Regions from separate parts of the Homo sapiens genome. Here region 2 is linked to region 1. Evidence: promoter capture Hi-C in 16 types of primary human blood cells and fetal thymus (Javierre and others, 2016). All regions are on one chromosome and are shown on one strand. The core of a region is centred on a gene start or on the middle of the fragment in contact, and the rest is flanking DNA. Distances in the headings are between cores, read along the strand shown.

Region 1 (3,712 bases), core at 738-3,237:
TGCCTCTCCCCATTACCACCACAAATGCAACTGGGAGATGAATGGCTTTCCAGGGAGTGATCAAATGGCTCAGTGCAATGTTTATCTCCACTCAGCGTTTCACTCTGCCACCTACTTCTTCTTATAATCCTCCACAAGATCCTGCATGTTATTCAGCTCTGAATTCTGTGATGTTCTTTCTGCAGTGAGCCCATCCAGATATCTCTTGAGGCTGTCGATATACCCCTGGAAGATGGGCTCCAGGTTGATGGGGCGGGTGCCAACATTCATTTGTTGTAGCAGCTCCCATTTGGTCTGTAACACCTGGTTCTGCTGCTCCAAGAACCGCACCTGCCATGACCAGAAGGAGAGCACATGAGTTCTAGATCATCCTTCACACCAAGCAAGCCACGCTGGCCAGGGGCAGCTCAGGTGCTGCTTCAGGACCTCGAGAAGTGTCTGAGGCTGGATGCCGAGTCATGACTGGCAGAGCTTCTGAGCTCCCTGCTTTCGCCCCTGGAAAGTCCCACAGACTCCTAATGCTACATCCGGCTCTCTCCACGCAGAGGAGACTCTTTGCTGCTTCACTGCTCACTGGTTTGTTTGCAGCTGCTCCCAATACTCTAGACCATTTCCCTCCCCGCATCCTGGTTGAATTTCCAGCCAAGATCCCATAAATTCTGGGGAAAACCGAAAGCAGCCATCTGCTGGCACTGCTCGCAAGGGTGCTGAGTATGAGAGTCCCAGAGGGCAGGGCTCCTCAGCCTGATTTTTAAGAGCCTTGTAAATCCCTGCCTATTTCAAGGCAGATAAACCAAGACAGGTTCGTCTGCCTTGAAATAGGAGAAAAGCCAGTAACACTCCGAAGTGACACCAATAAAGACTTTATGGATCACAAAACTGAGAACGCTTCTCTTGAAGGCAGGAATTTCCTGCATTCCCAAGCAGATATTTCAGGTTCAGCTTCCCAGAGTTTAGTAATCACTGCTAAGGAAGGAAACACTATCTCAGAAGACGATGGCTTCCAAAACCTGCTGCTCCAGTGGCCTGTCCCAAGGATCAGTTCAATACTTGCCTATATCCATTTTTTATGGTTTTCAGAATTTTCCATAAATATTATTTATATGGACTGTAACAATAAGGTCAAAGGGACAAATGCTTCCTAAGTGCAGGCTGTTATGGGAAATGTAACCCACAAAGCTGGCGTCTTTTCCATCTGGAAACCGCAAATGACCCAGGCTACTGCGGTACACCACTGGCTCCTAAGAAATACAAATCTGTGCCATTTTCTTTTTGGTTGGCTCTGGAAGTGAAGTGGCCTGAGCATCAGTGGGAGCCGTCTTCTCCAGAGTCACCTTGTCAATGAAGGAGGCAAATTTGTTGTTGAGAGTTTTGATCTGCTCACGCTCTTGGGCCTTCACATTCTGGATCTCTGGGTCAACTTTCACGTTGAGAGGCTGCAGGAGGCTCTGGTTGACAGAGACTTCGTGGATGCCACCAGGGTATCCTCCAGGCCCAAAGCCACCAGGACCCCCTAAACCTCCAACACCACCAGGGCCCCCAAAACCTCCAAAGCGGCCTCCACCAAAGCCGCCTCCACCGAAACCACCACCACTGAAGCCGCTGCCACCTCCAAAGCTGCTGCCGCCTCCAAAACCACCTCCTCTGCCACCAAATCCACCAGCGGCGCCAAAGCCACCACCTCCTCCAGCCACACTAATGGAGATGCTCTTGGTCCCTCCAAGGCCAACAAGACTCCGACTGCCAAAGCCGCCTCCACCGAAGCCCCCGCCACCACCACCATGGCGGCTCAAGCAGGAGAAGCTGGAAGTTGATCTCCGGCTTCCACCAGACACCACAGCTGAGCCGCTGCTGAAGCCCCGGAATCCTCCTCCACCTCCTCCTCTTCCTCGAGATTTGCAAGAGATCTGACAACTCATGATGCCTTTGTCCAGGGAGGAAAGTCACAGGCTCTTGAGAAGAGTCAAGGCTGGAGACTCAACTGTGCTGCTGGGAGGCTTTCAGGGTCCCCTTATATACCTGCCAACTAGGTGTTGTGTACATGGGTGTGGATCCACTTATACGTGGGTTTGGTCTGCCTGGGAGCTATTCCTGGTGCGTGATTATCAAGCTAATAGCCATTAAAAATCTACTAATCAGCTCCATCCCAGAACTTGCTTTGATTGCAAACTTCTGTTTATCTGGGCATCTGTCATGCAATTTGATTTTTGTAAAATCATCAAAAGAGGAGATCAGGGTTTGGGTTTCTCAATCTGGAAAAGGACCTTCTGCAGAATGCTGCTCCCTGTTCTGGACCTGCCCAAGGGAAGTCAGCTACCACCCATGCTTGTGCAGGCTCACCACCCCAGTTCAACAATGAAAGGGATGGTGGGTTTAGAGACTGCAAGAGCCCCTCAATGCCAGCCTTGTAGTTCTCTTGTAGTTTCCCTCTTTCCCAGAAAGAGCCCCAACTAGTGCAGGGGAGACTGCAAAGGTCTTAAATGACCTTAAATGCTAATTGGAAATCGACCTCCTCTTACAGAAAGTAATTGGCCTCGGATACTGCAAAAGAGGTGTCGATTTTCAAAATATCTTGGCTCTTTTCTTCCCATGCCACACCAAAAATACACAATAACTAGGCACCGAATAGAGATTTTTTATAACCATGATGGTTTGTATAACCATCAACTGTCCCTTGTCTACATGAACACCCAGAGGTTGAGAGGTATGAGAAAAGTTTCGCTGTTTCTGGACCTGTGTGATGCGGGACACCAAGTGAAAGTTTGCAAACCAAGATCCAAGTGTATATTGATTCAGTCAGTCAGTAATCACGTATTGCCTGGTGATCCTGGGAAGTGATTAGGAAGTCAGGCTCTTCAATGACATCCACAGATGCTTGAGGATAAGAAGACCATCCAGCCTGCACAGAGCACTCACACTTAAACTCAACCACTTCCTCTGTCCATGTGGCCAACTATGTGGGAGAGGTTCTTGGAGTAATAAAACTGAATTTAGTCAGAAATTCTGGGTTTGAGTCCCAGTTTTGCTATTTATTGGCTGTGAGGCCTTGAATGAAACCCTGAGGCTCTGTGGTCCCAGCTATAAAATGGGAAATTCGTATGAAGTGTTTTGAAAACCACCGTGCACAATAAAATGTCAGTATCATTATTGTTTGGGGTGAGACAAAGATAATTCCTTTTCCTTTCCCCCTTGCCATGTTACTGTCTTCTGGCTACTATGAACATGCACTCTCCACAGGCATCATAAATTACAGAACCAGGTGGTTCAGATCCTAGTACCAAGTTATCACAAAATAATGTAAAAAACATAAGTTTGAGGTCAAATCCCAATTTTCTTGTATCTTAGTTAAATGACCTCAGATAATCCATAATCCTCTTCAAGCCTCAGTTTCCTCATCTATAAAAAGTGAACAAGAATAATAAGAATATGGCTACTGTGAAAACAGAACAATACACACATGTGCTAAACACAGTTCCTAGTTCATAGCAGAAACTCAATAAATGCTATTCACCCTTCTGCATCTTCCCCGCCAAGTTTCCAATCCTGTCTTAACTACTATTCAAGGTATTTAATTTGCAGTAAAAGAATGCTGAAGGAAACAAAGCTACATGTCTCCTCAATTATTTTTTCCAATCTGGTTTGCATAATTATAATCATGCAAACAAATCATGAAGCTAACAGCTTTGGAGACAGTCTCAATCCAAAGCAAAAT
Region 2 (3,712 bases), core at 790-3,289, 100 kb after region 1:
GAATGAACAAGGCTCACCCGGGAATCTGGAAAGAGTTGAGAGGATCAAATGAAAGGGTAGTTTCCTCCTAATTTTAGCACCTCCAAGTCTCACACCATGTGTGTCCATGGAACTCCCCAGAGAGTTTGTCCCTGGGTCTGCAACACAACCTGCACTCTCACTATTCTAGCCAGGGAGAGGGGGATTCAGCCAGAATATCCCAGGCTGAGCCAGGGGTCTGAATGAATGGACTGGATACTTGAAGGCATTCATTCATCTGAGACTGAGCAATGCTCACCATTCTGGTGACCAAGAGAGTTCCTAACATCCCCTCTGTCTGCCTGTGGCTCCCTGGGTGGCTCTGTTGATTCTGTTTTTCAACCTGCTGCCCAGGGAGCCTCATGTCACTCATCTCACATCCCGTGCCCAGTCTCTTCCACTTTCAAACATGCCCCCTTAGTCCCCTTTTCAGGCCCCTGTGTATTCTGCTGCCTGCATTCCCTTCCTGCCTCTCCCCTGCAGTGAGGGCTGCACCCTTGTCCACCTGACAACAGATGCCATGATGACAGGATCCTCTCTGCCTGGTTCTCCAGGGCTCCCCATTGCCTAGCACAGTGCCTGGCCCATGGTAGGCTCCCAGATTTTGTGGGATCAGCAACTATTCGGTTCCTCCTGCTTATAGCATTGTCCTCTGTGTGGGTAGTTGTGTGTCCCGCCTCCACTGTCATGCTGGAGAAGAAAAGTCTTGGCCCTCCAGACAGCCTTCTACCCAATCATCTCCTGCCCCAAACCCAGGACAGGAGCCTGTATGCATGAACTTAAGATGGGGTTTTGAGATACAGACTGACTAAATCAGCTGCCACTTGTAGGAGTGGCTGCCCTCTCTGCTAAACATGCCCACCTGTGTACCAAGCCCATGTTAAGCACATGGGAAATGCAGCCAAATCATCCAACTGGAGGGAAAAGAGACCCAGCTGATTGGAAGGTCTTGAATCTCACCTCACACCCTCACATTTTCTCAGCCCCTAGAAGCCCCTAACATACCAGCTTGGATGCTTCTCTTGGCAGCCTGACACCCTCAGGGGCCTGGGTAGAGGCTGAAGATTATCCTCAAAATAAACAAAAGAGAGGCAATTTTATTAAGAATTCTAACCGGGGGTAACAGCAACAGTCATCCTGGCTATAAGGAGAGAGGATCTGAATCCAGTGGTTTCTGGTGAGCACAGGCCAAGAAAAAATTTACGCTACAGTAACGGGGGTGCTAGAAGGCCTTCCCTGCAGAGAGGCCAGAGAGCTGGGCACTCCAAGCTGCCATGCCATTGCCTCTGGAGGGAAGAGAAGTTTTGACTGGGTTTCAGGGGTAGGTTCACTGCCAACTGACCCTGTGCACGAGGATAAACAACTTGATGACCGAGAAGCTTCTAGTTACAGTTTATTAAAATTAAAATAAAAATAAAGATCATGCTCAGGTTGCCCTGGAGGCTGCAGTTCTTTCCACCTCTGGTAGGTGCTTATACCAGGCTTAGAACAGACACATTCTTTGGCACCACCACATCAACAGGAATCTAATGTTGTCCTTGCCTCTGTAGACAGCACCACAGGAGTAGGTCATGGGATGGCAAGTCAGCTCTCAAAGACTTTGGGAAGGGCACTCATTGCAAGACACACAAGACAACATGGGAGCTAAAGTTTAAGCAAACCCAGTTCTGTTCCATTTATTGAATAGCTTCTTGATCATATAACAAGAAGTTTACAGGAAGGAGGAAATGTGTTCTGTTAATACCCAGAAAGCAAACAGCCTGACACTGTCACCCAGAGCATGAGGCAGACACGGATGGGACCAGAAACAGCCACGTGACTATTGCAGTTGCAGGAGGGGATTGAAATGGGAACTGTGGAGGGCGGTTAGTCAAGGAAGACTTCCCAGAGAAGGTATCTTGAGGTGAGCTGATGGAGATGATAAAGAGTATCCCATGTTGCGGGCGTAAAGAGACTTGCAGAAACCCATCTGTGCAGCAAATATTACGCTTCATTTGAGGCAAGATCATCAAAGGCTGCTGAAGGCTACAAAGCAGAGCGTGGTATATCCACAAATGCAGGGATATGTACCAGCCTGACCCATTGAGTGGGAAGAATTTATGCTGTTTCTGACAGCCTGGCAAACTGCAGTGGGTCATGAGTTTGGATGTGGCTCACTGCTCCCCAAAGATCACCCAGAGTCTCTAGTCTCTCTTTGCTCCCATCCACCCCTGCCAACATGATCTTATGCAAGTACCATTTTCAAAATGTCACTCTCCTACCCAAAAGTTGACTAGCCTGCCTCTTCTAGCAGAACGATCTCCTCTTTTGACCTTAAATGCCCTCCCCTTTCCCTTTTTCTTTCCTCCATCCTGATTCCACCACTTTAATGTTAAAACTCTGTCATTCCATCCAAGCCAATCTTCTTGCTATCATTTGGTAGGAAGTTGAACAAATTACCTCCACGGTTTCTTCCCCCTGTTGGGTTCTGGAATACCATGCATCTCCTCCCCACCACCACCATCGTCCTTGCTAAGTTCCACCTCTGAGAGGATGACCCACTCAGCAGCCTGGCCATGGAATCCCTGGGTCTTCTCAATTCCGGTCACCTTCTCCTTCACTCCACCTCAACCACACACTCCATGCCTGCAGCCTGGACCATCACCAAGAACTGCTGCCTCCTAGAAGCTTAATTCCCAAGCCCCACTTTCTGGCCATAACTTTCCATCTCCCAGGGCTCTCCCAATTAACTCTCATTACATCTGCTCTTCACTCATGTAAATAATCTCATTGTCTTAACCCCTTCATTTTTTCCAAGGCTGTTAGCTCTCTCCTAGTTTCTTTTCCTGCTCTTCTCACATTAAGCATTATTCATTCATTCAACAAATACTTTCTGAGCATCTACTATATGCTAGGCATTGACCAGGTGGTGGAAAGTGGTGAACAAAATTGATGCTATCTCATTCCTCATAGAAGGAAGACTGGACTTCACCACCTGGACGACCTTCTCACCAGCCTCATCAATTCCCCTATTCCCCTATCTTTCAACCATCAGCCTAACAAAGTCCCTTCTCAAGGCCATGACTAAAACTTCCTTCCCCCACCTGCTGCAGGCACTGAGCTCTGCTAAGGGAGACCACCCAAGCCTAGCTTCCTACTTCACCAAGAACACTGAAGCCATCAGGAGTGATCCCCTCAGCATCCCTTCTGTGCCTTGACTCCTGCCTGCCTCCACACCCACCTGATTTTCCTTTTTCTTGTACAAGGCTTCAAGGTGTATCCCCACCCATCTCCTCTAATTCTTTGCTCCATCAGTTACCCTCCTCCCTCTCCTGCCCCTCCTCTCAACCTCTCCTCTCATACCCAAGTCTTTCCCACCCTTACAGTACCTCTTATCACCCCATGGCACCTTCTTGCTATCATTCTGTCTCTCTTCCCCTTCTCAACTAAATGTCTCAAGAGGATAACCCCATTTTGTCCACTTACCTGTCTCTGATTAGCTCCTAAACCCATGAAATCTAGCTCTGTACACAACCCTGACATCATGGATACCACATTCCTAAGAATGCCTTTCTCCATGACTTCCTAAAAGCCAAACCCGATAGACAACCTTCAGTCTTCATGCCACCAGGTCTCTCTACTGCAGCTGAAATGTGGTATATGCATAAGCCATTCTTTGCAGTATCATCACAACAGTAACTTGCACATGTTTTTT

Evidence for each region. The method cuts DNA at HindIII sites, captures the fragments that hold promoters and counts their contacts. A CHiCAGO score of 5 or more calls a contact.
Region 2: a fragment that was not itself captured here is called in contact with the fragment with the promoter of KRT2 in region 1 in 3 of 17 cell types (naive CD8 T cells, non-activated CD4 T cells and total CD8 T cells); the score reaches 5.3 in naive CD8 T cells.

What each region holds. Positions count from the first base shown.
Region 1 is chr12:52,650,224-52,653,935 of GRCh38, forward strand. KRT2 (keratin 2) reads right to left here and starts at 1,988. Exons shown (of 9, transcript NM_000423.3): 1 at 1,335-1,988; 2 at 116-330. The coding sequence starts at 1,919. The HindIII fragment of the contact is 4,749 bases long and covers 1-3,712 here.
Region 2 is chr12:52,754,618-52,758,329 of GRCh38, forward strand. No RefSeq gene overlaps it. Among named protein-coding and RNA genes, the nearest start is that of KRT76, 21 kb to the right of the region's middle. The HindIII fragment of the contact is 1,288 bases long and covers 1,396-2,683 here.